Linked DNA regions of Homo sapiens: region 1 is linked to region 2. Evidence: promoter capture Hi-C in human tissues and cell types (Jung and others, 2019). All regions are on one chromosome and are shown on one strand. The core of a region is centred on a gene start or on the middle of the fragment in contact, and the rest is flanking DNA. Distances in the headings are between cores, read along the strand shown.

The links. Contacts are between HindIII fragments. The study calls those that stand out against the background at their distance.
Region 1: a fragment that was not itself captured here is called in contact with the fragment with the promoter of METTL21A in region 2 in 1 of the 25 tissues and cell types used here (neural progenitor cells).

Annotation. Positions count from the first base shown.
Region 1 is chr2:208,181,477-208,185,239 of GRCh38, reverse strand. It overlaps C2orf80 (chromosome 2 open reading frame 80), which reads left to right. Exons shown (of 9, transcript NM_001099334.3): 3 at 208-289; 4 at 2,193-2,275. Among named protein-coding and RNA genes, the nearest start is that of C2orf80, 6.7 kb to the left of the region's middle. The HindIII fragment of the contact is 7,429 bases long and covers 1-3,763 here.
Region 2 is chr2:207,623,588-207,627,658 of GRCh38, reverse strand. METTL21A (methyltransferase 21A, HSPA lysine) reads left to right here and starts at 2,265. Exons shown (of 4, transcript NM_001127395.5): 1 at 2,265-2,597; 2 at 3,255-3,430. The coding sequence starts at 3,284. RefSeq lists enhancers at 392-1,094, 1,095-1,799 and a silencer at 2,070-2,669. The HindIII fragment of the contact is 12,030 bases long and covers 1-4,071 here.

The sequences.
Region 1 (3,763 bases), core at 644-3,143, 560 kb before region 2:
TTCAGTTAATTATGGTTAGACATTTTAAACTGCAGCATTGTAGAATTGTCGTGTAAACCAAAACCGAATATTAACTCAGCTACCAGAGCATCTGCAAATTCTCTTGTATTTTGGTGGGGGAGGGAGGGATGGGAAAAAAAAAAGCCTTTTTCTGCAGACTGAGCCCGTGTCACTCCAATGGTTCAATGCTGCTCTCTTGCTTTTAAGGGGAGATTATATTGGCATCAGACTTCGGGAAAATGAATTTGACCCAAAAGGAAGACGGCAACTCACCTTTCTAGATGATATGGTAAAGAAAGGCACGCTGATGCGAGTCATATTTGTGTTATATGTGTATTAAAGAGACAGAAAAAGGATCTTATTTATACAATAAACAAGGCTAATATTGACACCCATCCCCCAAATGTCCTCTTCCTCATCTTCCCCTCACCCTGAGATTGTTCATATGGTCATTTCAACCCACTAACCAGAAAGCAAAGAGAATGAGAAAATAAAAATCATGAGAGTTATTTGCTATTAGGAAAGAAGATTAAAAATCAAAATTAATGCCAGGCAAAATGTTACGTCTGTGGAGTTAAGAGTTTGACAAAATTAGCTATCATGTAGTTCTCAAAATAATTTCTTTACCATTTGCATTAGTGAGAGAAAACCAAATAAATTAAGTAACCCTAAAAATCCTTGGTGTTATTTATTTCGAAGCCCAGACTCAGGATCTGAAAGTTCACGTCACAGAAATTGAGGAAGAAACCATATAAAGATCTAACTCAAAAGAAATTAGCAAACCCTCAGTTTTTTCACTGCCCATTTACTATCCTTACACTAATAAAAAAGACTCTCTCCCTCCACTCCCCTCTCCTCTTCTTCTCCGACTAAAGTAGAGCCAGGCTCACTGGCTTTCAAAACTACCCTGGAGCTAAGGAAATAGTTAAGCCTTATTCTCTGTGTACACATATTAAACAGAGAAATTAAGTAGATTAGAGCAGTGCTTCTCAAACTTTAATGAGGTCGTATTACAAGGCTGTTTTGATTCAGGAGGTGAAGGGGGGCGGGGGTGAGGGGGGCGCCCCCGCGGCCTAGGAATTTGCATTTCAAATGACCAAACAAGTGATGCCAAGGCATCAAACTTTGGATCCGGTTGCAACATTTGGTCATGGTCCCATTCTTCCTGTTTATTTATTCATTTAGGTTCACTGTTCAGTTTGGTTCAGTCCCTGGAAGAAATAATTCCACCGTTTAAAAATGTTAAAACTTCAGAACGCCTCTACAAAAATTAAAAACAAAACCAATCTTCCGTTTTCTGTGTGTGGGGACTGAAAGGAGAGAAGGAATATTTTGATAGACAAATGGTAAATATGCTTACTGAACAAGAACTCTTAGGAATTACTAGGAAAAGGTGGTCACCATGATAAAAATAAGCCTCCGCATTGGTTCTCAGCTTTTTACTATACGTGCGTGTGAAACTCTCAGCAAGTCACTTACTCAGGTCTGCCCCCTTCCCCGCCCGCTCCGTCCTTGCCTCATGCTAGTTCCTCTACCTGTGATTTCCTTCCCCATCTGTAGACATTCTCATCCCACAAGCCCCAGCTCCAATGCAGCTTCCCTCTCTGAAGCTTCTTGGGATTCTAGCTATCTCCCCAGGTAGACATAAAACGGCCCATCCCTCCAAATTCCCACCACACTGCCCCTGTACCCCTGGAAGCACATTTCTGACATTCTACTCACAGAATCAGAAATTGTTCCCTGCAGCCCTGTTCCCCCACCCTTACCTTTTACTATGTTAAAATTTAGGGAAACTGAGGCCCAGAAAGCATCAGTTACTCACCTAAGAATATTCCGTGAGTTGTTGGCAATACCTAGATTTGAGCCCAGATTTTCTGATTCCAAGTTTATTATTCTTCACTGATCTCTCCTTTCTTTTCCAAATCACAGAAATCAGATAACTGCTCTAGTGGAAATAAATTTAATGTCTCAAGATCCCAAAATATTTCTGGCTGATTCATCCCTGTGAGGCGAGGTCTCAGAAAAAAAAAAAAAAATCTGGCCGAGCATCAGGTTATTAAAGCTAATGATCCTTCCCATTTTGGACATGACAGACTAGAATAGGCTTAGCAGTCCCATTGTCATTGGGTCCAGGGAGTACTTCGGCCAATGTCTAAGCCTGTTTCTTTGCTCTCTGTGCTTCCTGCTCCCAGGCACACTATGACTTGGCCATCAGTGTTGCTTTGCAATGGCTGGATCCCTCAGAAGACTTAACTTGGCTGGAGTGGGAGGAACTGTAAGTTGAAGTAGGTTTGTTGCTTTCCTCTTTAATTTGTGCCTATGATTAATGATAGAGGAAGTTCCAGCCCTAACATCTTCCATCATGAGGCACTTTGATTTGAAAACACTACTGGGTGAATATCCCTCTTCAACGAGACACCTGAGGAACCTGAACAGTTGCCAACTTGAAGAAGTTACATGTTTCCATGTTTTGCATCTCTATACTAATTGACTTCAGTGAGATGAAAGACTTTCTTGCACAGAATGTTGTGTCTTAAGGGGCCGGGCGCGGTGGCTCAGGCCTGTAATCCCAGCACTCTGGGAGGCTGAGGCAGACTCATTACTTGAAGCCAGGAGTTCAAGACCAACCTGGACAATATGGTAAAACCTCGCCTCTATTAAAAATACAAAAATTCGCCTAGCGTGGTGGCGCACACCTGTACTCAGGAGGCTGAGGCAGGAGAGGAGAATCACTTGAACCCAGGAGGCAGAGGTTGCAGTGAGCCAAGATTGTGCCACTTCACTCCAGCCTGGGCAACAGAGTGAGACTCCATCTCAAAAATAAAGAATGCTCTGTCTTAGAAACATGACTGCTTTACTATGTACATGCCATGATTTAAAACAGTCAGTTCTATGGGTAAAGACTGTAACCTTTTCCTAAGGACTACCAAACAAATTCTTAAGCATTTAGGCAGACATGTATCTGAGCTGAGCTGTTTGAAGCGCAGAATAATTTTCTTTCTGGGATTACCAGCATTTTCTGTCATGTATAGGGAGTGTTCAGGCAGACTCACTCAATTGGTAAGAACACAGAACTAATGAGGACAGGATCAAATAGCTTATTCTGGAGGCCTGTTATTTTTTTTCTACTCAATGGCTCTGGACTACACACCTGATCCTAGAGAGTTGTAACAGTTAGGGTTTAGCTGTAATGACCAATTTGAAAATCCAATTGAAAATCCAATTTGAACAGCCTTAAGCAAAAAAGCTGGGGAGTAGATTTTATTGCCCTTGTATCTGAAAAGTCCATGGGTAGGACTGTGTTAGGCATGGTTTAATTCAAAACTCAAACAATGTCATCTGGATCTACCTCCTGACTCCATTTCCTCAGGGTGAACACCATTCCTAGTTTCAGCCCATTTCATTATCGGGGAAGGGTGGATATATTTTTTTTTAATCACCCAATTGTGTCTCAGTGGCTGTTACCTGGCTTGTCTAGGGTTGGACAGTGGCAGCGCAGGGGAGGTGGAATACGCTGACAGCTCAGTCCACAGTGTGTTTTTCATCTTTGGAATCTAGGGGTGTAGTCAGCTTCCCTAGAAGCATATAGGCTTACAGTGGGGTTAGGTAGTTCCCCCAAAGCAAATTGTCACAAGAAAGGGAAAGGATAATGGTTTGCAAAACCATCAACATCCACCACAGTGGCCAGTCTGCCAATCTTTGATTGCTGTGAAAACATGGATAGATGAGGCCAAATTCATCACCATTATTGGAAGATTAAAAA
Region 2 (4,071 bases), core at 1,016-3,515:
GGAATAATTTAAATTTTCCATATTTGTCTGGCCCCAAAGCCCATACATGTTCTTTCTTGTGCCCATTGCTGGTTCTCCCTGCAAAAAGGGACAGAGAGAAAATAAAGGCAAGAAAGGGAGGTCTTCGATAAAGGGAAAGCTGAGAGGCAGAAACACCAAGTGCAGGAGGTAAGAGAGAAAGGAAATACTAAGAGAGAAAGCGAGAGGACCAAAAAAGAAAACGAAAAAGGAGGTAAAAGTCCCTCACTGGTGGTCTTCCAAGTTCCCTGAGGTTACCCTCGAAGCCACAGGCCCCACCTTCCGATGGAAGATTAATCTGGAGGCCGGGGACGCCGCCTACAGGACGGAAGAGGCCAGGAGAGAGAGGTTCAGGCCCCCGCCAGGCTCCCACCGCGGGAAGCAGGCTCCCGGGGGCGGCCCCGGGAGCTCTTAAAAATATCAGCGCTTGCCGGGCGCGGTGGCTCATGCCTGTGATCCCAGCACTTTGCGAGGCCGAGGCGGGTGGATCACCTTTAGTCATGAGTTCGAGACCAGTCTGGCCAACGTGGTGAAACCCCCGTCTCTACTAAAAATACAAAAATTAGCCAGTCGTGGTGGTGGGCCCCTTAATCTAAGCTACTTGGAGGCTGAGGCAGGAGAATCCCTTGAACCTGGGAGGCGGAGGTTGCAGTGAGCCGAGATCATGCCATTGCACTCCACCCTGGGTGACAAGAGCGAAACTCTGAATAATAATAATAAAAAAAAAAAATCAGCGCTCGGGCGGTAGGGGTGGGGGAGGTGGCAGTGGTTCACACCTGTAATCCCGCATTTTGGGAGGCTGAGATGAGCGGATCACCGGAGATCAGGAGTTCAAGGCCAGCCTGGCCAACATGGTGAAGCCCCGTCTCTACTAAAAACACAAAAAAAGCCGGGTGTGGCGGCGGGCGCCTGTAATTCCAGCTACTTTGGAGGCTGAGGCAGGAGAACTGCTTGAACCCGGGAGGTGGAGGCTGCAGTGAGCCGAGATCGCGCCACTGCACTCCAGCCTGGCGACAGAGCAAGACTCCGTCTCAAACAAACAAACAAAATCCCACAAAAATTAGCTGGCGTGCTGGCGCAGGCCTGTAATCCTAGCTACACGGGAGAATGAGGCAGGAGAATCGCTTGAACCCGGAAGGCGGAGACTGCAGTGAGCCGAGTTCGCGCCCTTGCACTCCAGCCTGGGCGACAGAGAGAGACTCCGTCTCAAAACAAAAACAAAAACAAAAACAAAAGCAAAAAACCAAACAAAAAAATCAGCGCTCGGGCCCCCTCCCATGGCCAGCTCTTGGGGCGGGGGACTGGTAAGGGAGGTTTACCCCAGCTGGTTCTAACGTGCAGCCGCGCTGAGAGCGCAGCGGGCGGTGTGGGGCGAGGGGCCCCAGGAGGAAAAAGAAGCCTGCCCCGGGAGGATGCCGGTCCCCGCACGGTCCCACTCAATGGACCCACTCCAGCCGCGCGCTCTGCCAGGGCCTGCGGCCAGGGTACCAGGCCCTCGGCACCTTCCACGTCCAGCGTGGGTCCTCACGGGCAGGTGCGTCTTGGCATCGGGAGGAGGGAGACTGGGGCACTGGAGTCTGCAGCGCCGCCTGGGGCCGGGGCTGGAGCCGAGCGCACGCCCAGAGCTCCGCGCTTCCGACTGCAGCCAGAGCCCGCCGACCCCCGCCCCACTTTAAAAACTTGGACTCGGGCGCCACGTGTTCACTTCCCCCACTGTGCTTTAGTTGAAAAGGGTTTTGTGACTTTTCCACTCGATTGCCGCCAAGCGGGCTATTACGCCGCTTCTGACCCCACCGTGGAGACGCGGGGACTAGAGTGACCATGCCTTCTTCGGAGCGAGCTGTCTCCATCATCCGCTAACGCGCCACCTTTAAAAAACAGGCACAACGCGCAAGCGACAAAGTCAGAGGCAGAGAGCGGCGGAGCACATGATAGAAAAGGTCGAGAGGCACATTCAGCGCCAGGTGGGTGGCTTTTCTCTCCCGCTAGGAGAGCCCAGGGCACCCCATGCTCTCCCTGTGCACCCGCGGCAGTTCGGCACCCCGATCTCACTCTTGCTCCCGCCCCCACAGCGCCTCCCTCGGCGGCGGGGGAAACGGATTAAGTCGTCCGTGTACCCTGGGGACGCACGAGGGAAAGCCCCGGTCCCCCCTCCCGCAACGTCACTCCTCCACCGCGCCACGGCCCGGCCCCGCCCTCGCCGTGAGCTCCGGGGGCACCTGCCGGAGGCTGGGTGCCGGGAGACCGGAAATGCGTGGCTCCGGGCCGGGGCCGCCCGCCCCCGCGTCGCGGGCTCTTTAAGGCCGGCGGTTTTCGCAGCCAGCCCGGGGCGGGGAAAGCGGAGCGCGCGCTCCACGCGGGACCGCCTCCCGGGCCGTAAGTACCGGCGTGGCGGCGCCTCAGCCCGGCCTGGGCGAGCCCTGGGTGCTCCGCCGGGCAGCTCACGGCGCCCCGTATGGCCTGGGGATCCTAAGAGGCCCTGTGACCCCCCTCGCCTGGTCTCCCTCTCACCCCTGGAGGGTTGCCGCAGCTCCGGGGCCCCCGGGCAGGAAGGGCGCACTGGTCGTCCCGGGAGAGGGGTGAGTGGGGGGCAGCTATAGGGGGAGTTCGGGGAGGCCTCCGAGTCCCCGCTGTCCCCGCGAGCCGCTTGGAGGCCCCCAGTGTCGCTCACTTCCAGGGTCGGGGAGACGGAACTGCGGCGACCATGTATTTCTGGTTTATCAAACCGCTAACACCCAGTCTAAGGGCAGGTTCTGTCCCATTGTTATCACTATCGAAGCAGCCGATGGAGGAGGGGAGGTGGGTAGCGAAACCGTAGCGAAAGAACCCGGGCCGCCCGGCTGGCTGCAGCTGCAGTCCGGGCGCCCGGGTCTGGGTTGGAAGCGCTGCTTTCCGCGCTGCTCTGGGGCCCTGGGCGATCACCGCCGCTTCCGCCGCTTGTGTAGTTCTGAATTCACGGAGTGGTAGCAGTGCAGTGTATAGGGTATTCTGCGGAAGTTGGAATGTTCTGGGCTTTTTTTTTCTTCTTCCCCAAACACATCCGTTGACACAAATTCCGAGCCAAATCTCACTCAGATTCGGAAGAGCCATGCAAAAGAAATTGGACAAAGGCTTCCTCCACCTGTTTCTTTTTTTCTTTTGAACTTGTAAACGACCTTAAAAGCATTTGGAGTTAGTTAAGAACAGATAATGTATCTTTTGGCCAGAGCGTCACCCAGGATTCTTTTGCACGGCAGGTCTGAGCAGAGGGCGGGGTGCAGGCGGAATGGCCCTCGTGCCCTATGAGGAGACCACGGAATTTGGGTTGCAGAAATTCCACAAGCCTCTTGCAACTTTTTCCTTTGCAAACCACACGATCCAGATCCGGCAGGACTGGAGACACCTGGGAGTCGCAGCGGTGGTTTGGGATGCGGTAAGTAAGCCCTGGGGGACCTCTGAAAACGTTCACACTTGCAAGACTGGCTTTTATTTTTTATTTTTTTTAGAACAGCTTTATTGAGATATAATTCACATAGCATACACTTTACCTATTTAAAGTGCACAATTCAGTGCGGTTTTAAAAATACAGTATATTCACAGAGTAGTGCAACTATTACCGCTTCAATTTTAAAAGTTTTACTATCACTGCCACTCTCAAACCCGTATCCCTTAGTCACTCCTCTTGTCCCTCCACATAGATTACATTTTAAAGGTGTAAATGAAAGCTGAGGAAAGTTAATGACTTGTCGGAGAGGATAGGAAGGAAAGCCCCCAACTGCTTTGGACACGAGTTAGTCTTTTTTTCTTTTGAGACATAGTCTCGTTCTGTTGCCCAGGCTGGAGTGCAGTGGTGCGATCCTGGCTCAATGCAGCCTCCGCTTCCTGGGTTCAAGTGATTCTCCCACCTCAGCCTCTGGAGTAACTGGGGCTACAGGTGCACGCCACCACACCTGGTTAATTTTTGTATTTTTTGGTAGAGATGGGGTTTCGACATGTTGGCCAGGCTGATCTGGAACTCCTGACCTCAAGTGATCCACCTGCCTCAGCCTCCCAAAGTGCTGGGATTACAGGCGT